Linked DNA regions of Homo sapiens: regions 2, 3, 4, 5 and 6 are each linked to region 1. Evidence: promoter capture Hi-C in 16 types of primary human blood cells and fetal thymus (Javierre and others, 2016). All regions are on one chromosome and are shown on one strand. The core of a region is centred on a gene start or on the middle of the fragment in contact, and the rest is flanking DNA. Distances in the headings are between cores, read along the strand shown. Region 1 holds the start of ZNF121 (zinc finger protein 121). Region 2 has its middle 4.9 kb from the start of OR7G3. Region 3 overlaps ZNF317 (zinc finger protein 317). Region 4 holds the start of OR7D2 (olfactory receptor family 7 subfamily D member 2). Region 5 has its middle 20 kb from the start of OR7D4. Region 6 holds the start of OR7E24 (olfactory receptor family 7 subfamily E member 24).

Region 1 (3,687 bases), core at 645-3,144:
GGATTACAGGTATGAGCCACCGCGCCTGGCAAAATACCACATTTATGAACCAAATTCCTACATGTTCTTGGGTCTGTTTTTAGATATTTTATTAGTCTGTTTCTGCTTCATGTGCTAGTACCACATAGTTTTAATTATAGAGGCTTTATAGTATGTCTTATTTATTTTTATTTTAATATAATTTAATTATTTGCCTTGTGTGAAAACTGTTAATAGTATGTTTTAACATCTGCTGCTCATCATTGCTTTTGTTTTTGTTTTCTTGGTTATTATCAGATATTTATTCTTCCACATAAACTTTAGTATCAACGTACCTAACTCCAGAAAAAACTTTTAATATTTTTACTGGGATTATGTTACATTTCTGAATAAACCTGGGGAGAATGTCTGGTGTCAGTGCTATTTTACAATGTAGGAAATGTGGTCCTGGCCCATGTGGGAAGATCAGAAAAATAACAATAGAAATACATGTTTTTGGCCAGGCGTGGTGGCTCACATCTGTAATCCCAGCACTTTGGAAAGGTGAGGCAGGCGGATCATGAGGTCAGGAGTTCGAGACCAACTGGGCCAATATGGTGAAACCCTGTCTTTACTAAAAATACAAAAATTAGCCGGGCATGGCGGCGCCTGCCTGTAATCTCTGCTACTCAGGAGGCTGAGAGAGAAGAATCGCTTGAACCCGGGAGGCAGAGGTTGCAGTGAGCAAGATCGTGCCACTGCACTCCAGCCTGGGCAACAGAGCTAGACTCCATCTCAAAACAAAAACAAAAACATATTTAAAATTTTTTTTAAACAGAGACGGGGTCTTGCTGTATTGCCCAGGCTGGTCTCAAACTCCTGGCCTCAAACGATCCCTTGGCCTCCCAAATTGCTGGGATTATAGGCATAAGCCACCATACCCAGCCAGAAATACATACTTGATGAAGACAAAAAAAAATCAAGATTTACAGAAAATATTATTATATTGAAAACGTGGCCGGGTGCGGTGGCTCATGTCTATAATTCCAGCACTTTGGGAAGCTGAGGGAGACAGATCATTGGAGGTCAGGAGTTCGAGATCAGTCTGGCCATCATGGTGAAACTCTTCTCTACTAAAAGTACAAAAATTAGCTGGGCGTGGAGGCAGACATCTGTAATCCCAGCTACTCGGGAGGTTGAGGCAGGAGAATCACTTGAACCCGGGGGGCAGAGGTTACAGTGAGCCGAGGTCATGCCACTGCACTCCAGCCTGGGCAACAGAGTGAGATCTGTCTCAAAAAAAAATAAAAAATGAAAAAGAAAAACGAAAAAAGAAAACGCAATGGAACCAGCAGGTTCTAAAAAATAAAGAATGAAGAAATAAAGGCCTACAGAAAGCCTGACTGAATAGAAGAGATAGACCATGCCATTCACTGGCAGCTTTATCCATATGGAAGAATCATGGAAAGGCTCTAGGAACATGAGATGTATACAAACAAGCTTTATATATATGTATACACACATATATATTTTAATAAAGGATGTTGCTATTTTGCCCACGCTGGTCTTGAACTCTTGGACTCAAGCTATCCACCTGCCTTAGCCTCCCAAAGTGTTGGACTTACAGGCCTTAGCCACTGTGCCCACCTGGGAAAAGCTCTGCAGGAGCATCCCCTGGGGTGCGTCCCATCCCCCACGCCCGCCCTTCCAGCAGGTCCGGCCACCTGAACCGCCGGCTAGCCGGGTCCCACCTCTAAACCGCCCCCAAGTAAGGGCCTGTCCGCGCCCACCCGGGAAGAAACTACAATTTCTGTGTTTGACTGGGTCCTATGTGGCTGAAACTCGAACCCAGGAGCCCCGCCCGGCCCGAGGCTCGGAGCGGAAGTGACGTCAGCGCACAATCGCCATCTTTTCCGGCGCTGGCTCCGCATGGTCAGTGCCATTTCGCCTTTATCGTGGTGGAGTCCACCCTGGCTGTGGTGAGTTCCGCCTGCTTGGGGATCCCGGAGATAGCGGGGGGCGGCAAAGGAACGATTGGGTGCTGTCGCCCAGGAGCCTCTCCGATCCGCCTCGTTTCACTCTCTTCTCCAGGGGCTGTCGGTCCTCCTTGCGCGGCCAGTGGCTAGAGGCCGCAGGCTCAGTGGGTCCCAGTCAGGAGCCAGGTCGGGAAGTGTGTTTGTCCCGACTCCGCGCGTTTTCTGGAGTGGTTTCATCCGCTGTGCTCCCTTCTTCAAAAGCTTGGAAAGCAACCTTTGTGAGTTTCTTTCTTTCTGAAAGTAAAAGGATTTCTGCCGTTCCAGTCAGGTTGGCTCCGGCCCCGCATTTCCGCGCCTCAGGAACCTGGCGTTTCCGGCATGTTCCTGGTGAACACCTGCAGAAAATTGGTTTCAAGAGGGCTCTGACTTCCATTTCTTTGCTTAAAAATGTCTCGTCTGAGAATCTGGCATTGATGTCCTATTCTTATTTTTGACACATTACTTTCTGATGGAAAAAAAATAGTCGTTTAGGGTGTGCCTATATCTGCATGTAAATATGAACACGTGTAGACTGTGAGCCTTTAGTTTCTTATTTTATTTTCTTGGACTTAATGTTTTTTGTTGTTACCAGCTACAAGCCTTTCTACAAAAGAAAGGCAGGCTGGGCGCGCTGGCTCACGCCTGTAGTCCCAGCCATTTGGGAGGTCGAGGCGGGCAGATCACCTGAGGTCAGGAGTTCGAGACCAGCCTGGCCAACATGGTGAAACCCTGTCTCTACTAAAAATACAAAAAATTAGCCAGGCGCGATGGCGGGCGCCTGTAGTCCCAGCTACTCGGGAGGCTGAGGCAGGAGAATGGCGTGAACCCGGGAGGCGGAGCTTGCAGTGAGCCGAGATCGCGCCACTGCACTCCAGCCTGGGCAAAAGAGGGAGACTCCGTCTCACACACACAAAAAAAAAAAAAAAAAAAAAAAAGCCAGGCTTGGTGGCAGTCCCCTGTAATCCTAGCTACTTGGGAGGCTGAGGCAGGAGGATTGCTTGAACCTGAGAGGCCGAGGTTGCAGTGAGCCGAGATCTGCCACTGCACTCCAGCCTGGGCGATGAGAGCGAAACTCCGTCTCAAAAAAGAAAGAAAGGCAATAATACACAGCTGTTGTCTTTATCTGAAGTTCCTAGGTCTGTACCCCCCCACAGAGCTTCAAAACGGGCCCACAGGAAGAAAGGATGGAGGCTTTTGTTTGTTTTTTTCAGACGGAGTCTTGCTCTGTCGCCCAGGCTGGAGTGCAGTGGCGCGATCTCAGCTCACTGCAACCTCCACCTCCTGGGTTCAAGTGATTCTCCTGCCTCAGCCTCCGAGTAGCAGGGACAACAGGCATGGGGACCATGCCCAGCTAATTTTTTTTTTTTGTATTTTTAGTGGAGACAGGGTTTCACCATGCTCGCCAGGCTGGTCTCGAACTCCTGACCTTGTAATCCGCCTGACGGCCTCCCAAAGAGCTGGGATTACAGGCGTGAGCCTCCGCTCCTGGCCAGGATGGAGGCTTTATAATCAGAATATTATTCTAGTATTAGTGTAATAAAGTAGTATCTATTGAATTTATTAACAGCATGTTTAGACTAAGTGTAGTTTTGACATTTTTTTCTGAAAAATTTGATCCTAGGGAAAACTTGAACATCTAACACACCCAGTCTAGTAGTTTTTTTTTTTTTTTTTTTGAGACAGAGTCTCGCTCTGCTACCCGGGTCGGGGTGCA
Region 2 (3,687 bases), core at 864-3,363, 450 kb after region 1:
ACAGGCACCCACCACCACACCTGGCTAATTTTTGTATTTTTAGTAGAGACGGGGTTTCACCATGTTGGCCAGGCTGGTCTCAAACTCCTGACCTCAAATGATCTGCCTCTTCGGCCTCCCAAAGTGCTGGGATTACAGGCGTGAGCCACCACGCTTGGCCTTTTTTTTGAAAGAACTGTCTTCTTAAAGACCTGTTCTCCTTAATATTTACGTTGGAAGCCATTGTCTAATTCTTTCTCATTTTTCATACATAATAGCTTTTGCCTGTCAATGTAATTTCCAATCGTAATAGAATCATTCCTTAGTAAACTACATAAAATATCAAACGATGGAAGTATCATTCCTTTGATTATGAATGCAGACATTTTTCCCCTTGTCTTCCCAAGTTTAGGGTCAATATTTAAAGAGAAACCCACACAGGCCCCATTTTTTGTCACCATCACTGCACCATTTCATACCCTATCAACTTTAGGTTTTGTTCTTCATTTGTTTCAGACTGGGTTTGGGCTTTATCTGCATTTTGTCAACATTATGTCACCATTTCTTTTCCAAAAACTTACTGTACTAGGCCATTATTGTGTTGGTATAAAGAAATACCTGATGCCAGGTGCGGTGGCTCGTGCCTATAGTTCCAGCACTTTGGGAGGCCGAGGTGTGTGGATCACTTGAAGTCAGGAGTTTGAGACCAGCATGGCCAACATGGTGAAACCTCGTCTCTACTGAAAATATAAAAATTTGCCAGGTGTCGTGTGTGCCTGTAATCCTAGCTACTCTACTCAGGAGGCTGAGGCAGGAGAATCGCTTGAACCTGGGAGGCGGAGGTTGCAGTGAGCTGAGATCACGCCACTGCACTCCAGCCAGGGCGCAGAGTGAGACTTGGTTTGAAAAAAAAAAAAAAAAAAAAAAGCAATTTCTGACTCAGAGAAAGCTGGGATTCTGTCTAAGGAGGATTCCACCAGCTCCCTAGGGGTCCGATCCTAGGATCCAAGAATGAGATACCCTCGGGATAAGAGGAAATGTGGTTGGAAGAGAATGACATACAGCTTGTCCCTTGGGGTCAGAAAGTCAACCATCCAGGAATTCCCCCTTTGTGCTCACGTCTGACCTGTGCTCATTAAGGATTTGAGCTGCCTTAGGGGAAGAAATGACAGTACTGTACACATCTAGCTAATGAGCAGCTTTGAAAATTGAGCTCCTAGGGGCCACAGAGACTGCAAATAATCTACCGGTGACCACTCCACTCAACAGCCCCGCTCATGTTAGGAAACATCACACCTGAGTCTTGCTCCAGAGATGATCCCTCTTGCCCAAGAGTGGGTTGCCTTACTTGGTTCATCTGCCCTTCTTGGGGATAGATCTTCCATTTCATCTTACAATTCTCCAAGAAAAAAAATGGAGAATTCCTTACTGATGCCTTCAAGGTAATCTGAAATGCTCCCAATAAATGCTGTGAGAAACTGAACAAGTTTTTTATTTTATTTTTTCTCCCATCTTATCTGGAGGACAACCATAAAGTAAGAGACAATTCAGCAGAATTGTTATAAGTGAGATTCCAAACTAATCGGTGACCCTTTTCATGATATATTTACTTCCCCTGTTTTCTTACAATTTATAATCAGATTTCATTATTTTCAGCTCTCATTCTGTCTTCTAAATCCTAGGGACTCCTTCCCTACCTAAGTATGAATTAGTCCCTTCAAAAAGGAATCTGGCCAAGTGCGGTGGCTCACGCATGTAGTCCCAGCACTTTGGGAACCAAGGCGGATCAATCACCTGAGGTCAGGAGTTCAAGACCAGCCTGGCCAACATGGTGAAACCCCATCTCTACTAAAAATACAAAAATTTAGCCGGGCATGGTGGCATGCACCTGTAATCCCAGCTACTCAGGAGGCTGAGGCAGGAGAATCGCTTGAACCCGGGAGGCAGAGGTTGCAGTGAGCTGAGATGGCACCACTGCATTCCAGCCTGGTGACAGAGCAAGACTCTGTCTCATAAAACAAACAAATAAACAAAAGGAATCTACAGTTCTCTGGTTTTCCACATTCTTTTTTTTATTTTTTGAGAAGGAGTCTCGCTCTGTCACCAGGCTGGAGTGCAGTGGCTCCATCTCAGTTCACTGCAACCTCCGCCTCCTGGGTTCCAGCGATTCTCCTGCCTCAGCCTTTTGAGTAGCTGGGATTACAGGCGCCCACCACCATGCCTGGCTAACTTTTGTATTTTTAGTAGAGATGGGGTTTCACCAAGTTGGCCAGGATGGTCTTGATCTCTTGACCTCGTGATCCGCCCACTTTGGCCTCCCAAAGTGCTGGAATTACAGACATGAGCCACCATGCCTGGCCCCATGGTTTTCCTCATTCTTTTGACTGCAGATGGGGCTTTGATGAGATGTGTCTGGCTTTTCAATCTTCACCATGTCTGTTGCCAGATTTCACCCTTAAATAACTTGACTCTTGTCCCCATCTCTTGACAGTGAGAAACTCCAGAAGAGGAAGTTGAGACCCACTCACTTACATTTCCAGTCTTTCGGTTTCTCTTTTAAAACCCCAAAACAGGCCAGATGTGGTGGTTCATGCCTGTAATCCTAGCACTTTGGGCTTACAGGCATGGGCAACATAGCAACATAGCCTGGGCAACATAGCAAGAGCTCATCTCTGCAAAAAAAAAAAATTTTTTTTAATTTTAAAAATAGATTTAAAATACTAAATATAATAATAATAACAATAAAGTATAACACTTAAACATGAAGTCCTCTTGATTTGTTTTTATTCCTCTCCTTCCCTTCCTGGGGACCACCACTCTCTGAAATTGGTGGGCATTCACTATGCTTAGTTTAACACTATTATTACATGTAATAATAGTGCCATAATTTGTGTATCTATCCCCATACTGATGTTTGTTTAGCTTCTTTCTTTCTTACTTTATTTTGAGACAGGATCTCACTCTGTCACCCAGACTGGAGTACAGTGGCTCAATCACGGCTCACAACAACCTCGACCTCCTGAGCTCAGGTGATCCTCCTACCTCAGCCTCCTGAGTAGCTAGGACTATAGGTGCATGCCACCATGCCTGACTAGTTTTTGTATTTTTTGTAGAGATGGGGTTTCACCATGTTGCCCAGGCTGGTCTCTAACTCCTGGGCTGAAGTGATCTGCCTGCCTCTACCTCCCAAAATGCTAGGATTACAGGCGCGAGCCACTGCGCCTGGCTTTTTCTTTTTTCTTTTTCTTTTCTCTGAGACAGCATCTTGCTCTGTCACCCAGGCTAGATAGAGTACAGACACACAACCCAGGCTGGTCTCAAACTCCTGGGCTCAAGTGATCCTCCCACCTCGGCCTTCCAAAGTGCTGGGATTACAGGCTTGAGCCACTGTGTCAAGCCCAGTTCTTTCTTTTCTGTACCTTATTACACTAGGAGAACCCTCAGTGGGATTTTGAGCACATGCCTTCTTTGCTCAGCCCTAAGACATTCTTCTTCTTTTTTTTTTTTTTTTTTTTTTTGAGATGGAGTCTCACTCTATCACCCAAGCTGGAGTGAAGTGGCGTGATCTCAGCTCACTGCAACCTGCACCTCCCAGGTTCAAGCAATCCTCTTGCCTTAGTCTCCAAGTAGCTGGGATTACAGGCATGCATCACCACACCTGGCTAATTTTTAAATTTTTTTAGTAGAGACGGGGTTTCACCATGTCAG
Region 3 (3,687 bases), core at 681-3,180, 430 kb after region 1:
ATCTGGACCATCCAGAGGTCCTCTTTCACCACTAAAGGCTGATTCTGCTCAAGAGCCATTCTTTACCCATTCCTTCGCATGCCTCATGCTTTGCCCAGGTAATCACATCCACTCATTTAACCTGAATCCCCATCTCTAACACTTAGGTTCCAGTAGGAACTCGAGATCTTATTCCCTTTGCCTAGGAAAAGCCACCAGTAAGACATCTCATACAAAAACCAGTTCCAGCCAGGTGCAGTGGCTCCCACCTGTAATCCCAGCACTTTGGGAGACCAAGGTGGGTGGATCACCTGAGGTCGAGAGTTCGAGACCAGCCTGACCAACATGGAGAAACCCCGTCTCTACTAAAAATACAAAGAATTAGCTGGGCATGGTGGTGCATGCCTGTAATCCCAGCTACTCGGGAGGCTGAGGCAGGAGAATCGCTTGAACCCGGGAGGCGGAGGTTGAGGTAAGCTGAGATCGTGCCATCACACTCTAGCCTGGGTGAGAGAGCGAGACTCAGTCTCAAACAAACAAACAAACAAACAAACAAACAAAAACAACTACCTTGACACACTAAACCTAGGGAAAGCAAAAGTGAAGAAATAAAGATTAAAGCAGAGACAAATGAAATAGAGAATAGGAGAATTAATGAAAACAAAAGTTGGTTCTTTCAAAAAGATCAACAAAGGTGACAAAACTACAGCTAGAATTACTAACAAAAAAAGATGCAAGTAACTAAAATCATCAGTGGAAGTGGGACATTACTACCGACCTTACGGAAATTCAAAGGGCTGTAAGAGAATGCCATGAACAATTATGCACCAACACATTAGATCATCTACACTAGCAGTCCCCACCCAATTTGGCATCAGAGACTGGTGTCATGGAAGACAATTTTTCCATGGATGGTGAGGTGAGGGGGGATGGTTTTGGGATGACTTGAGTGCATTACATTTATTGTGCACTTTATTTCTATTATTATTACATTGTAATATATGGTAAAATAATTATACAACTCACCATAATATAGAATTAGTGGAAGCCCTGAGAGTGTTTTCCTGAAACTAGATGGTCCCATCTGGAGGTGATGGGAGACACTGACAGATCATCAGGCATTAGATTTTCATAAGGAGTGTGCAATCTAGATCCCTTGCATGTGCAGTGCACAATAGGGTCTGCGCCCCTATGAGAATCTAATGCTGCTGATGATCTGACAGGAGGTGGAGTTCAGGGGTAATGTGAGTGATGGGGAGCCGCTGTAAATACAGATGAAGCTTCACTCACTTGCCCTCCGCTCACCTCCTGCGGCAGGGCCTTGTTCCTAAAAGGCCAGGGACCGGTACCTGTCTGTGGCCCAGGGCTTGGGGATCAATGCTCTAGATGTATCAAATTCCTTGAAACATACCCAAACAGGCTCTAGAAGAAAAAGAAAATTGAGAGACCTATAACAAGAGACTGAGGCAGTCATCAAAAGCCATTAAATAAAAAGTCCAGGACCAGCTGGGCACGGTGGCTCACGCCTGTAATCCCAGCATTTTGGGAGGCCGAGGCGGGTGGATCAGGAGGTCAGGAGATCGAGACCATCCTGGCTAACACGGTAAAACCCCATCTCTACTAAAAATACAAAAAATTAGCCAGGCGTGGTGATGAGTGCCTGTAGTCCCAGCTACTCGGGAGGCTGAGGCAGGAGAATGGTGTGAACCTGGGAGGCGGAGCTTGCAGTGAGCCGAGATTGCGCCACTGCACTCCAGCCTGGGCGACAGAGCAAGACTCCGTCTCAAAAAAAAAAAAAAAAAGTCCAGGACCAAGGGGCTTCACTGGTGAACCCTACCAAACATTTAGAATTAACATCAAGGACATTATCAAGAAAGTGAATGAGACACAGAATGGTGGAAAATATTTGCAAATCATGTATGTGATAGGGATTTAATATCATTATAAACTCAACAACAAAGACAACCCAGTAAAAAAGTGGGCAGGAGACTTGAACAGAACAGACATTTCTCCAAATTTACAGAAATGAACTGTAAACACATGAAAAGATGATTAACAACATCAGTCATTAAGGAAATAACATCAAAACCACAATACATTGGTGAGGTATGGTGGCCCACACCTCGGGAGGGGATTTAATTTGCTTTGTATGAACATGCCTCCTCTCTCTGGCTTCCACCGCGACTCTCATGACAGCACTGATGTAAGAACCGTGACGCTGCTACTTTAACATCTGACTCAGATCAATAATCAATATTACCACTTTTAAACATTACCAGGGTTATAACAATCTTTTTCAACATCAATTAGTATTTCTGCTATTGGAATTGTTTTAGATATTCAGAAACATTTCAAAACAATAATATAGGAAGTGTGTTTTAACGTATAAACTCTGCCTTGGGGATTCATTATTCAACACCAAATTTGATCTTGGGCCAACTCAAAGATGCATGACGCTTTCATTCTTTTTACAAAGCCCTTTTCTAGTCATTGTGCCTTTGGGTTCTGACATTAAGTCACTGCTGAGGAAGGGGAGAGAGGGTGACAGAGGCTCAGTTCCTGAGGCACAGTATCTCCATCCTCACCTACCATTCATTCATTCATGCTCAACTAACAAGCTTCTGCAGGTCCCATTCCACCTTTCCCCACCAACATTAATGCCAATTCTACAAATAACGACATGTGTAGTGTTTACAAGGTATGAGACATTCTCCTGAGTCTTTCCAGGGCCACTCCTATTTAATCCTCACAACCTCCCGGAATTATTCTCAAGTACCCAGAGAATAAGGCACCAAGGGTCCGAGACACTTGGTCAAGGTCATAGGTGGAAGTTGTGAGCCCAGCTGACGTGACTGCGGAGCCACATCTTGTTGCCTCTCAAAGTGACCTATGTCACCTGTACTGTCCCCTATGTGGGAACTCCTTGACACTACATCTTGACCCTTCCTTTGCCTGACCTCCTGACACATCATCTTGCTCACTATGAATCTATCTCCCTCTTCCTGGGAATGCCACTGCTCTTGCAGCCATAGCCCACTCATCCCAGTCTGTGCTCACATCTCTGGTTGCTCTTTTGAAGACTCTGGCTTGAGATCCCTCCTCTGCCCAGCCCCTAAAGGTCAGGGTTCCCCTGGGCCCCTCTCCCCCATCTCCCACAGGTCCACATTGTGAAACACCCCCACCATTTGGAGGTGCTGACACCCAGGTTCTGATTGCACTTCTGTGAAGGTCTCCCTGTCCCTGAGGCCTCAGTAGACTCCCCTTTAATGCAAGCCCACAGTTCTGCTCATTCCCCTCCCAAGAGTCAGTTCATCAAAACTCAGTTTTCTCATCTGGAAACTGAAGACTTTAACACTGGGTTATGTATGGAACTCTATAGGCTCAGTAAACAAACATTCACTCTAAAATGCCATTATCATTAAAATAAAATGACCACTGACGATTTCACAATTACTTAACAGAATTGTTCATTTATAGTGGGTGCCACTCTCCGCTCCCTGGCACCTGCCCCACCCAGAATGACTCAGAGTGAGTGGCAGCCAGGTGGCTACTTAGTATCCCTACTGCAACAGCCAACAGGATCCCACATTAAACACCTACAACTGTGCTGCCACCAGCCTCCCCACGTTGATGGCAGCTCCAGCCTCCCAGGGGCTCAAGTCAAAAGCCTTGCTCGTCATCACCTTCAACTCTCCTCTTTCTTTTCCA
Region 4 (3,687 bases), core at 191-2,690, 410 kb after region 1:
ACAGCCTGGCTGGGTGCTGTGACTCCTGCCTGTAATCCCAGCACTTTGAGAGGCTAAGGCAGGAGAAATTCTTGAGGCCAGGAGTTTGAGACCAGCCTAGACAACAAAATGAGACACTTGCCTCTACAAAAATAGATTTTTAAAAAATTAGCTACTTGGGAGGCCAAGGCAGGAGGTTTGCTTGAGCCCAGAAAGACCCTGTCTCAAAAAAAAAAAAAGTCAACTTAAACACAATTAATTACAACTAATCAGTGTCATCAGCTTTCTTATGTATCTGCAAACAGCCATGAGAAAAAATAAGAGGAAAAAAAGTCCATTCACAATTGCAATGATAATATATGTAACATCTGGTGCAGAGTGAACATTTAATACATACTTGTTTTGTTTTGCTTTGCTTTGTTGATTTTTTTTTTTTTAGACGGAGTTTTGTTCTTGTTGCCCAGGCTGAAGTGCAATGGTGCAATCTCAGCTCACTGCAACCTCTGCCTCCCAGGTTCAAGAAATTCCCCTGCCTCAGCCTCCCAAATGGCTGGGACTACAGGCACACACCACCATGCCCGGCTAATTTTGTATTTTTAGTAGAGACAGGGTTTCACCATGTTGGCCAGGATGGTCTCGATCTCTTGACCTTGTGATCCACCCGCCTCGGCCTCCTAAAGTTCTGGGATTATAGGCATGAGCCACTGCACCCGGCCGAGAACTATTATATTATACTAGAGAAGAAAAAGGAAGGTGTTAGCAGGTAGACTGAAAGGAATCCACTCAAGGAAGTGCCAGTTCCTACTGACATTGAGAAAGTCACTAGTTTCCAGAATGAAAGGCCATCAGAGGTGGAGGTGACAGAAACAGTTGCAATAGAATCTTTTTTTTTTTTTGAGACAGCGTCTCACTCACTCTGTCACCCAGGCTGGAGTGCAGTGGCGTGATCTTGGCTCATGGCAACCTCTGTCTCCCGGGTTCAAGCCATTCTCCTGACTCAGGCTCCCGAGTAGCTGGGATTACAGGCATCCGCCACCATGCCCAGCTAATTTTTGTATTTTTAGATGAGATGGGGTTTCACCAAGTTGGCCAGGCTTGTCTTAGACTCCTGGCCTCAAGCGATCCGCCTGCCTCAGCCTCCCAAAAGTTGCAATGCCTTAAGACATCTATAACCAGGTAAGGGAATCCTAGAGACATTTTAAAAATCATGAGACATTATCAACCCTGTTACCTCCATCTCTGTTCCTCCCCACACTACTTTTTAAATCCTTTTCACACACGGTACTAACAAGGATAGTGTGAGTCACTCAACTGACATTGCTTGAAAAAAAAAAATGCTGGTATGACGTCTTCCTCCCCTGACTGTTGAATGCTGAAGACAGAATCTAGCAGGGAAAGGCGGGGAGATGGAACTTGTCATGAAGTCATCCTAACTCTCCTCTCTAAGATGCATGAGTGTGGCGTCAGGAAACTGTCCAGGTGAGGTGTTTTAGGGAAGTATTTATGGTTTCTCAAGCCCCAGGGAGCTGATGTCTCATCCTTCCTCATTAAATCCACTGTTCCAGTGATGTTCTACTCTCCAACCCATTCGGCTCCCTTGGGATCAAGAGCAAATGGCAGAAAGGTATGATGTGTTCTAATTCTGTTTCCAAGAAGGCAGCTCTGAAGCCAGGTGACTCTCTCTGCACCTCCCACCCTCTTGGGGCCTCTTTATTCTTGGAAGAGCTTTCATCACTATTGGTTTGGCTTTGAGATAAAGAGGTTTTCCCCTCTGGAATGTGTCGCAGAAGCTACAAAGACCCATCTCTCTGTAATCCCAGTGCCTAAGGGTCTCAAGGTAACACAGAAGAAAATAGAGATGCAACTATTTCCGTGAATCCCCTGTGATCGCGTTGGCTGCAGGGCGTTAAACAGGCTGTGGACATGTCGTAAGTCCTGTTTCAAGAGAGGGAGAGTCAACCATTGCGAGATACAGCAAGATTTCTCTTCAAACAGCCTGCTCAGCTTCTTATTCTCTAATTCCAAGTACCCCCCCCACACACTTTCTTCTCCTTTTCTTCTTTCTGATTTTGCTGCATGCCCAGATATGCCATAGCCCCAGCTCACATTTCTTTCCTTATTTAAGAATAGACTAGCTGTCTATTCCTCTGTAGAAGACCCCTTCCTCCTCTCCTCTGTCTCCCATCACACACCCACCTTATCTAAGACAGTTTAAATGTGTAACCAATCAAGTCTAGTTTAGATTGTGCTGTCCGACCCCAGCCAATGGGGAAAGGACACACAAAGTCAAGAGTCGCATTAAGAATAAAAGTTGCTACTCTCCTTTGTTCAGGGTGCTCTTGTAGCAGCCAACCCTACGAGAAGCACCCTTCTGCGCAGAAGTAAATTTGCTTTGCTGAGAAATCCTTTGTTTGAGTGCTCATTTTTCTTTATGACTCCAAGATTTATTTCTAACAACCATGTAAAACGATGCTATAAGGCTAAGCAAAATAAAGGCTGAAGAATATCCATCACATTTAATGGCATGGAAAACATTAGAAACAGCGATCTGGGTAGAGTGATGGGGAAAATTTCATTGATGGCAAGTTTGGGAGGAACTGAACAATAAGAAAAAAGTTTTTTTCAATTTTTAAAATGATGGTAAAATATACATAACATACAGTTCACCATCTTAACCATTTTAAGTGTACTATTCAGTGGCATTAAGTATATTCACAGCAGCCATCACTATCCTCCATATTCAGAATCTTCTCATCTCCCCAAGCTGAAACTCTGTCCCGTAACACTCATCCCTCATTCACCCTCCCCAGCCCCTAATGAACCACCATACCACTTTCTGTCTCTATAATTCTGACTGTGGTACCTACTTCATAGACGGAAGTATACACTGTTTGTCTTTTTGTGACTGACTTATTTCATTTAAGTGAAATATTGCCAAGGTTCATGTATGCTGTATATGTGTCCGAATGTTCTTTCTCTCTCTCTCTCCTCTCTCTTTTTTTTTCTTTCTTCTTTTTTGTCAGGGTCTTACTCTGTCACCTAGGCTGGAGTGCAGTGGCACAATCATAGCTCATTACAATCCCAAAGACCTGAGATCAAGCAATCCTCCCACATCAGTCTCCCAATTAGCTAATTTGTTTTTTATTTTTTGTTGTTTTTCTATTTATTATTATTATTATTTTTATATTATTATTTTGAGACAAAGCCTCACTCTTGTCGCCCAGGCTGGAATGCAACTTCCACCTCCGAGGTTCAAGCGATTCTCCTGCCTCAGCCTCCCGAGTAGCTGGGATTACACGTGTGCGCCACCATGTCCGGCTAATTTTTGTATTTTTAGTAGAGATGGGGTTTCACCATGTTGGCCGGGCTGGTCTCATATTCCTGGCCTTGAGTGATCCTCCCGCCTCAGCCTCCCAAAGTGTTGGGATTATAGGCATGAGGCACCATGCTCAGGAGAATGTTCTTTGTTAAAGCCACAAAATATTTCATTATATTATATGTATATACACACATTTTGTTTATCCATTCATCTGTCAATGACTGACAGATCTTTTAAAATTAAAATTAAATGTACAAAAATCTGTGTGGTTTGCAGGAATAAATTTCGAGTACTTCAAATATACAACAAAATGTGCTTGGCCGGGTACGGTGGCTCATGCCTGTAATCCCAGCACTTTGGGAGGCCAAGGTAGGTGGATCACCTGAGGT
Region 5 (3,687 bases), core at 389-2,888, 380 kb after region 1:
ACTAGATCTCATTCATTGTCTCTAACTATACTTTTGTGTTGCTTAACCATCCTGCACTTTTCCCCTCACCCCCACTCCCCTTCCCAGCCTCTGGTAATCATCCTTCTACTCTCTATCTCCATGATTTCCATTGTTTTAATTTTTAGATCCCACAAATAAGTGAGAACGCGTGAAGCTTATCTTTCTGTGCCTGGCTTATTTCATTTAAATTGATGGCCCCCAGTTCCATCCAAGTTGTTGCAAATGACAGGATCTCTTCCTTTTTTATGGCTGCATAATGCTCTATTGTGCACATGTACACAATTTCTTTGTCCATTCATATGTTGAATGGATGGTGAATGCTTAGCTGCTTCCAAATCATGGCTATTGTGACTAGTGCTGTAATAAACATGGGAGTGCAGATATCTCTTCAATATATGGATTCCCTTATGGGGGGGTATATACTTAGCAATGGAATTGCTGTATCTTTTGTTTGTTTGTTTGTTTTGAGATGGAATCTCGCTCTGTCGCCTAGGCTAGAGTGCAGTGGCGCGACCTTGGCTCACTGCAACCTCCGCCTCCCAGGTCAAGCGATTCTCCTTCCTCAGCCTTCCGAGTAGCTGGGACTACCGGCGCCCGCCACCACGCTCGGCTAATTTTTTGTATTTTTAGTAGAGACAGGGTTTCACCATGTTAGCCAGGATGGTCTCGATCTCCTGACCTCGTGATCCACCCGCCTTGGCCTCCTAAAGTGCTGAGAATACAGGCATGAGCCACCGCACCTGGCCCGGAATTGCTGCATCTTATGGTAGCTCTATTTGTAGTATTTTGAGGAAACTCCAACTCGTTCTCCATAATGGATGGACTAACTTGCATTCCCACCAACAGTGTGCAATTGTTCCCCTTTCTCCACATCCTTGTGAGCATTTGCTATTGCCTGACTTTTTGATAAAAGCCATTCTAAATGGGGTGAGATGATATCTCCTTGTAGTTTCGATTTGCATTTCTCTCTCTCTCTTTTTTTTTTTTTGAGATGGAGTCTTGCTCTGTCACCCAGGCTGGAGTGCAGAGGCACGATCTCAGTTCACTGCAACCTCTGTCTCCCAGGTTCAAGTGATTCTCCTGCCTCAGCCTCCTGAGTAGCTGGGATTACAGGTGCCCACCACCATGCCCAGCTAATTTTTGTATTTTCAGTAGAGATGGGGTTTCACCATGTTGGCCAGGCTGGTCTCAAACTCCTGACCTCAAGTGATCCACCCGCCTCAGCCTCCCAAAGTGCTGGGATTACAGGCATGAGCCAATGCGCCTGACCTGCATTTCTCTTAAAAGAGATTTTTATTTCTGATGCCTCCTCTGTGTCAAGCAGGTTAGAGACTCTGGAGAATTAGAGATGAAAGAGACTCAGTTGTTTCTGTCACAATAATCAGTACTTAATTATATAAGGACAAAAATAAAATGTCCTGTGGGAAGTACAGAAACAGTAACTTCAGGTCACAGGATATTTCAGTTGAGTGATATAAAGATTAATCTTAAAATATTAATAACAATTTCTAGAATACACGTTGCCTTTACTTTATGCATCCATCACAAATAGATCCCACAGGGAGCCCCCATGATCTGCTTAATCAATACTGAATGTATCTGTGTCAACTAGAAATCAACTCAGGTGGCAATGTTGAGTCTCAGAAACACTAACATCTTGCCCCCTGCCACACAGATAAGTGGAATAACAGGATTTTAAAAAAATTATAGGTTGATGCAAAAGTAATTGAGGTTTTTGCCATTACTGTTGTCACCAACCTAATAAATGATCAGTCTCTGAGTCTCAGGCATGAACCTTTTTTATGTTTCCCAGCTATCAGAAAGTTGTAAGCAGAGGTAAGAGGTCTTAACCACAGGCACATCGGAGGTGCATTTTCAAACTGTTTCCAGATTCCTGAGTAGGAATGAGGCCAAAACTCTGATTTTATTTCTCCTTTCAGGAGGTGGAGAGCTGCAAGGAAAGCCAGGAACAGGGGCAAGGGAGAGATGCACCCTGAAGGATCCTGTGCCAGTTCTTTCTGGGATCTTTGATGTGATCTCAGCTGCCCTTTCTATACTTGATACAGTGAACGTAGCACCCACTGGTCTAGCTGTGGTCTACCAGGAACCCACTGGTAAGCAGTGAGCACACCAGGGGTCCAGAGTGACAGGGATTCGAGAGGGCAGGTTGGATGCAGGAAGAGGCCTAGCCAAATGCCATGTGCAAGGATTTAGATGGCCTGATTCAAACATGGCTTTACTCCTCTCTACTTCATGAAATACTACAAGTTACATAAAAATGCACAGCTCCTTTCCTCGTGCAAAATAATAATAATGTGTGCACTTATGGATTGCAGAAGGCTATGCAGATAAAATGAAACAAACCACATAGAACACAGAACTGGGCGCCTGGCATTCAGGAAGCCCTCAGGAAAAGTTCATGATGTCATAGTGACTGTCCTCTTCCTCCTCATCCTCATCATCAGCTTCATAATCCTTTTACAGTGTTCATGGAATAGCTTAGAGAGACCTATTTTTTCCTAGCTTCAGTGAGATGTCTATAGCAAGTAGAACCAGTGGAGGGAGAAAGTAAAACTTTGAGTGAGATTTCAGAGTCCCCACCACAATCAAGAACATAAACTCCACAGTTGTCTGAGCTGATATTTTGCACATTGATGTCCTCCTATCTGCCACTCCACTGTCCTGTTTGTCCTGAGGATGAGGAAAGAAGGCTCCCGACCATCCCTCAGCACTCACTGAGCTGCGCTTCCCCTCTGCTGGGCCATGATCATGGAGAGCAGGTCCGCTGTCCTCCCTGCGTGGTGCACGATGGAGGCTCAGGCTCCGTCCTCAGGACTGGCAGGAAGACAGGGTCAGACATGAGCCTCCTGATGCAGACGACAGGTGTGGAGCCCACTGGACTGGAAGCTCACACTGCAGGGCTGGAGGCACAGGCTGAGTATTCACTATGCTATGGCCTTGGGGGCTCAAGGCACAGAGCTCCTCATTAGCCAAATTGGCCCAAGTTCCCCAATCTCTAAGGACTTCCTCATAATAATTCAGGAAGAAGAAGAGAAAAATGAGTGTCCATAGAAGCTTTTGGGCTCTTCCTCTAATCAGGAGAAAGCTTGTGTGTATTATTCACTTTTTTCTTTTCTTTGTAAAGATCCAAATGCTTCAATTTTCATCTTTTATTGTGGTAAAATATACCATGTGTAAATATTAAAAAGTATAAATATATATTATTTTATATAGAAGGGTCAATATAAACAATTTCCACTATTTTTAAGTTTACAGTTTAATGACATTAAGTACATTTGTATTGTTTAGCAACCATCACCACCATCATCTCCAGAACATTTTTATCTTTCAAAATGGAAACTGTGCCCATTCAACAAACTCTCCATTCCTCTCTCTCGCCCACTCCTTGGGGCCACCATTCTGTTTTCCAACTCTATGAGTTTAACTACTCTAGATATTTGATATCAGTGGAATCATACTGTGTTTATCTTTTTTTGAGACAGAGTCTCATTCTGTCACTCAGGCTGGAGTGCAGTGGCGTGATCTTGGCTCATTGCAACCTCTGCCTCCCAAGTTCAAGCAATTCTCCTGTCTCATTCTCCCAAGTAGCTGGGATTACAGGCATGTGCCACCATATCTGGCTAATTTTTGTATTTTTAGTAGAGA
Region 6 (3,687 bases), core at 738-3,237, 330 kb after region 1:
CCACCGCGCCCGGCCATAATGTAAATTTCTACAGTGCTGAACAATAATGCGTTTTAAGAAGATATTTGAATGAATCACGTTGCCTGGTGCTACATTCTTTTGTAACTTACCCATTGTAGCTCCGTCCCTTTAGAAACATCATCACCTGAACTATTTCTGGTGCTTTTAAAATTCCTCAACCCACACAGGTCCAAGTAAATTTTGGTAATGACACCCAGGCCTCAGTATTTGTGAGGTCCCCAGGTGATTTCAATAAAACCAAATGTGAGGACCATTGATAGACATCATCATACGTAAGCTGCCTAAAGTGATTTCCTAGATGCGATTTGGACAGAAATTACACAGGAACTGTAGAAAGGGAGGTAAATACGAAGTACGATAAGTCCTCACTTAACATCCTCCACAGAAAATTAGAAACCACAATTCAAGCAAAACGATGAACCATGAAACCAATTTATTCATTTCTCACCAAAATTAAAACTAAACAACATTGAACAAAATGAACTTATTTCAGGACCTGCTGCGCTTTTTTTTTAAAGTTGCAGTTTCCAAAAACCTCTTGACAAAGTTAAGTGAGGATTTCAAGTCTATCAGAAAAGATTGTGATTGCACCTGGATATCAAGGTCATTGCACAGATACTAAAGGAGGCTGTCTAGGTATATTGGAATCATTCATGATGTGTATGATGAACAAAGGATACCAGAATACTCACCCATTGCAATTAAAGACAAAACAAAGCAAGCAATATTCACATACGAAACCCAGAGAGGAATGAAAGCCATCAAGCAACCAAAATAATGTGACCAAGGAGGCAGAATTTGCAGGCCTAGGTGTTAAATTTTGCTGCCATTTCTATCCCATATAACAAAAAGGATGGAGATGATGAGATTTGATGATTCTGCCATGCAGCCTGCACAGGGCACTTTGAATGTCCTTGTTCCTCAGGCTGTAGATGAAGGGGTTCAGCATGGGGGTGACCACAGTGTACATCACTGAAGCCACCATACTCTTCCTGGGGGATGGTAACACAGCTGAACTGAGGTACCCTACAAGCCCTGTTCCATAAAATAAGCAAACAACTGCCAGGTGAGAGCCACAGGTGGAGAAGGCTTTATACTTCCCATCTGATGTTGGAACTCTCAGAATGGGGGAAACAATTTTATAGTAAGAGAAAAGGATCCCTGAGATAGGGAGACAGCCAAATATGGCACCCATGAAATATATGACCATTTCATTGATGAAGGTGTCGGAACACCTAAGGTGGAGGAGTTGAGAAGGGTCACAGAAGAAATTAGAAATGTCCACATCCTTGAAGCAGGTGAGCTGTAACATAATCAAATTGTGCAACTGGGAGTCCAAAAGACTAATAAAAAAAGACAACAAGATTAAGAAGCCACAGAGGCGTGGGTTCATGATGATTCGGTAGTGCAGGGGGTGACAGATGGCCACAAACCGGTCATAGGCCATCACACTCAGGAGCATGTCATCCATACATGCAAAAAGGACAAAAAAAGACATCTGAGTCAGGCAGCCTTCATAGGAGATGACTCTGCTGTGAGTTTGCATGTCCACAATCATCTTGGGGACCGTGGTGGAGGTGAAACCGATGTCAGCCAAGGACAGGTTGGAGAGGAAGAAGTACATGGGGGTGTGGAGGTGGGAGTCAGAGCTGACAGCCAGGATGATGAGCAGGTTCCCCAGCACCGTGACCAGGTACATGGACAGGAACAGCCCAGCGAGGACCGGCTGCAGTTCTGGATCCTCTGAGAGTCCCAGGAGGAGGAATTCTGAGACACCTGTGAGATTCTGTGGCTCTGTGTAGCTCGGACACCTTTTGAGGAAAAAAAAAAAGAGAATTGGAAAATAGGACATAAGTAAACCAGCATCTAGCACTGTGTCTATATTTTGGATACAAGCAATTAAGAAATTAAGTTTTCACATAGGATTATACACCCTCAGCAATAGTTCTCAGTTGTGACAAACCCAATTTCCTTAGAGTTACTTCATAATTGATTTTGTGTTATTCACCTCTTTCTGTATACACTTAACTTAGAGACAGTCTATTGAAGAATGTTAGGAGAGCAAAAACATTAGAGATTTTAGAAATCCATGATCACGGTAAAATATAGCCTAATTTATCAGGAAAAAATATACAACAAAAATATTCTTGCCCCTTTAAGAAAAAGATTAAATCCATTGAAAGGATACTAAGAAGGAGTCAGCTATGTCTTGTTTTATTCTAATACAATTCTACAAATTCCATTGATTGAGGATATTTATCAACACTCAATGAGATCTAGGATCATGTTGTCTCAAAACTCAATGAAAGTTCATAGTTCATAGCCAGAAAACATCTTTACATACCAGTTATATTCTACGGTTTCCATCATTCTTACGTTTTCTGACTTTCATTCTTCATGGAAGTAAGTACTCACTCAAATATGTGGGCTTTCTTTTAAAATTCACTTAATTATAATTCCTGTCCTTGCCTTAGGTGGACTTGGAGTTTTGATAAGAAAGTAGCCCAGGGTGGTGGCTCACACCTGGAATCCTAGCACTTTGGGAGGCCAAGGCAGGAGGATTGCTTGAGGATGTGAGTTTAAGACCGGCCTGGAAAACACAGCAAAACCCCATCTTTACAAAAAACTAAAAAATTAGACAGGCATGGTGGCGCCGCCCTGTAGTCCCAGCTACTCAGGAGGCTGAGTCAGGAGAATCGCTTGAGCCCTGGAGTTCGAGGCTGCACTGAACCATGATCATACCACCGCACTCTAGGCAGAGTGGCAGAGTGAGACCTTGACTATTAAATCAATAAGTAATTAAAAGGAAGGTTTAGTTAAATGCACATAATTACCAGGACATCACTGATAGCAAAGATGTTGATAGTGTGCAACGTACCTGTGGATGACAGAACATTAATATAATGTTAAAATGCTTTTAATTTTTTTTTTTAAGACCTGAGTCTCGAAGTTTTGAGCCTGTCACCAGGCTGGAATGCAGTGGCATGATCTCAGCTCACTGCAGCCTCCGCCTCCTGGGTTCAAGCGATTCTTATGCCTCAGCTTCCCGAGTAGCTGGGACTACAGGCGCACGCCCCACCATGCACAGCTGATTTTTGTATTTTTAGTAGAGATGGAGTTTCACCATGTTGGCCAGGCTGGTCTCAAACTTCTGACCTCAAGTAATCTGCCCACCTCTGCCTTTCAAAGTGCTGGGATTACAGGTGTGAGCCACTGTGCCTGGCCAAGGTAATGTTAAAATACTTTGGCATTACTTTCGTTGTGGCTGGAATCATGTGAAACTCTAAAATGTATCTTGATCTAAACAATAAGGTTTACCTGCCCCCACTTCCTTCTGCATCCTTTTCTCTTTTTTTATGCCTGTAAAAATCTCTGCCATGGTCTTTAAGTAATTGAATGTTGTAGATGCTATTATTATGTGTCCATAATATAGACACAAAAAAGTGCTATTTTACCTTCTGCCTAGTTTGTGACACATTCCTGGAAGGAATGAAAGTACAGATAGGAAAGCAGTGAGTGTGTTGAAGTCACACTGATCACAGCCAGTTTTGTGAACTAAGGAAGGGTCTATTCAATATGTAACAGAGATTCTAATTTTTGGTGTCTCCTCTGTACCAAGCAAGATACAGGCTCTGGGAAATCAGAGTTGAAAGAAACTCAAATATT

Evidence for each region. The method cuts DNA at HindIII sites, captures the fragments that hold promoters and counts their contacts. A CHiCAGO score of 5 or more calls a contact.
Region 2: a fragment that was not itself captured here is called in contact with the fragment with the promoter of ZNF121 in region 1 in 8 of 17 cell types (M0 macrophages, naive B cells, endothelial precursors and 5 more); the score reaches 11.0 in M0 macrophages.
Region 3: a fragment that was not itself captured here is called in contact with the fragment with the promoter of ZNF121 in region 1 in 5 of 17 cell types (M0 macrophages, naive B cells, total B cells and 2 more); the score reaches 6.6 in M0 macrophages.
Region 4: a contact is called between the fragment with the promoter of OR7D2 here and the fragment with the promoter of ZNF121 in region 1, in 1 of 17 cell types (total CD8 T cells). The highest score is 6.0, in total CD8 T cells.
Region 5: a contact is called between a fragment that was not itself captured here and the fragment with the promoter of ZNF121 in region 1, in 3 of 17 cell types (M0 macrophages, non-activated CD4 T cells and naive CD4 T cells). The highest score is 8.1, in M0 macrophages.
Region 6: a contact is called between the fragment with the promoter of OR7E24 here and the fragment with the promoter of ZNF121 in region 1, in 1 of 17 cell types (M2 macrophages). The highest score is 5.9, in M2 macrophages.

The regions. Positions count from the first base shown.
Region 1 is chr19:9,582,711-9,586,397 of GRCh38, reverse strand. ZNF121 (zinc finger protein 121) reads left to right here and starts at 1,894. Exons shown (of 4, transcript NM_001008727.5): 1 at 1,894-1,937. RefSeq lists enhancers at 1,504-2,315, 3,130-3,687. The HindIII fragment of the contact is 737 bases long and covers 1,461-2,197 here.
Region 2 is chr19:9,130,000-9,133,686 of GRCh38, reverse strand. No RefSeq gene overlaps it. Among named protein-coding and RNA genes, the nearest start is that of OR7G3, 4.9 kb to the right of the region's middle. The HindIII fragment of the contact is 4,665 bases long and covers 1-3,687 here.
Region 3 is chr19:9,150,002-9,153,688 of GRCh38, reverse strand. All of the region lies in intron 1 of ZNF317 (zinc finger protein 317), which reads right to left. Among named protein-coding and RNA genes, the nearest start is that of ZNF317, 11 kb to the right of the region's middle. The HindIII fragment of the contact is 1,338 bases long and covers 1,262-2,599 here.
Region 4 is chr19:9,176,732-9,180,418 of GRCh38, reverse strand. OR7D2 (olfactory receptor family 7 subfamily D member 2) reads right to left here and starts at 1,440. Exons shown (of 3, transcript NM_175883.4): 1 at 1,296-1,440. The HindIII fragment of the contact is 28,883 bases long and covers 1-3,687 here.
Region 5 is chr19:9,197,594-9,201,280 of GRCh38, reverse strand. No RefSeq gene overlaps it. Among named protein-coding and RNA genes, the nearest start is that of OR7D4, 20 kb to the left of the region's middle. The HindIII fragment of the contact is 2,921 bases long and covers 178-3,098 here.
Region 6 is chr19:9,249,230-9,252,916 of GRCh38, reverse strand. It overlaps OR7E24 (olfactory receptor family 7 subfamily E member 24), which reads right to left and starts at 1,987. Exons shown (of 1, transcript NM_001079935.2): 1 at 292-1,987. The coding sequence starts at 1,873. The coding sequence ends at 854. The HindIII fragment of the contact is 19,830 bases long and covers 1-3,687 here.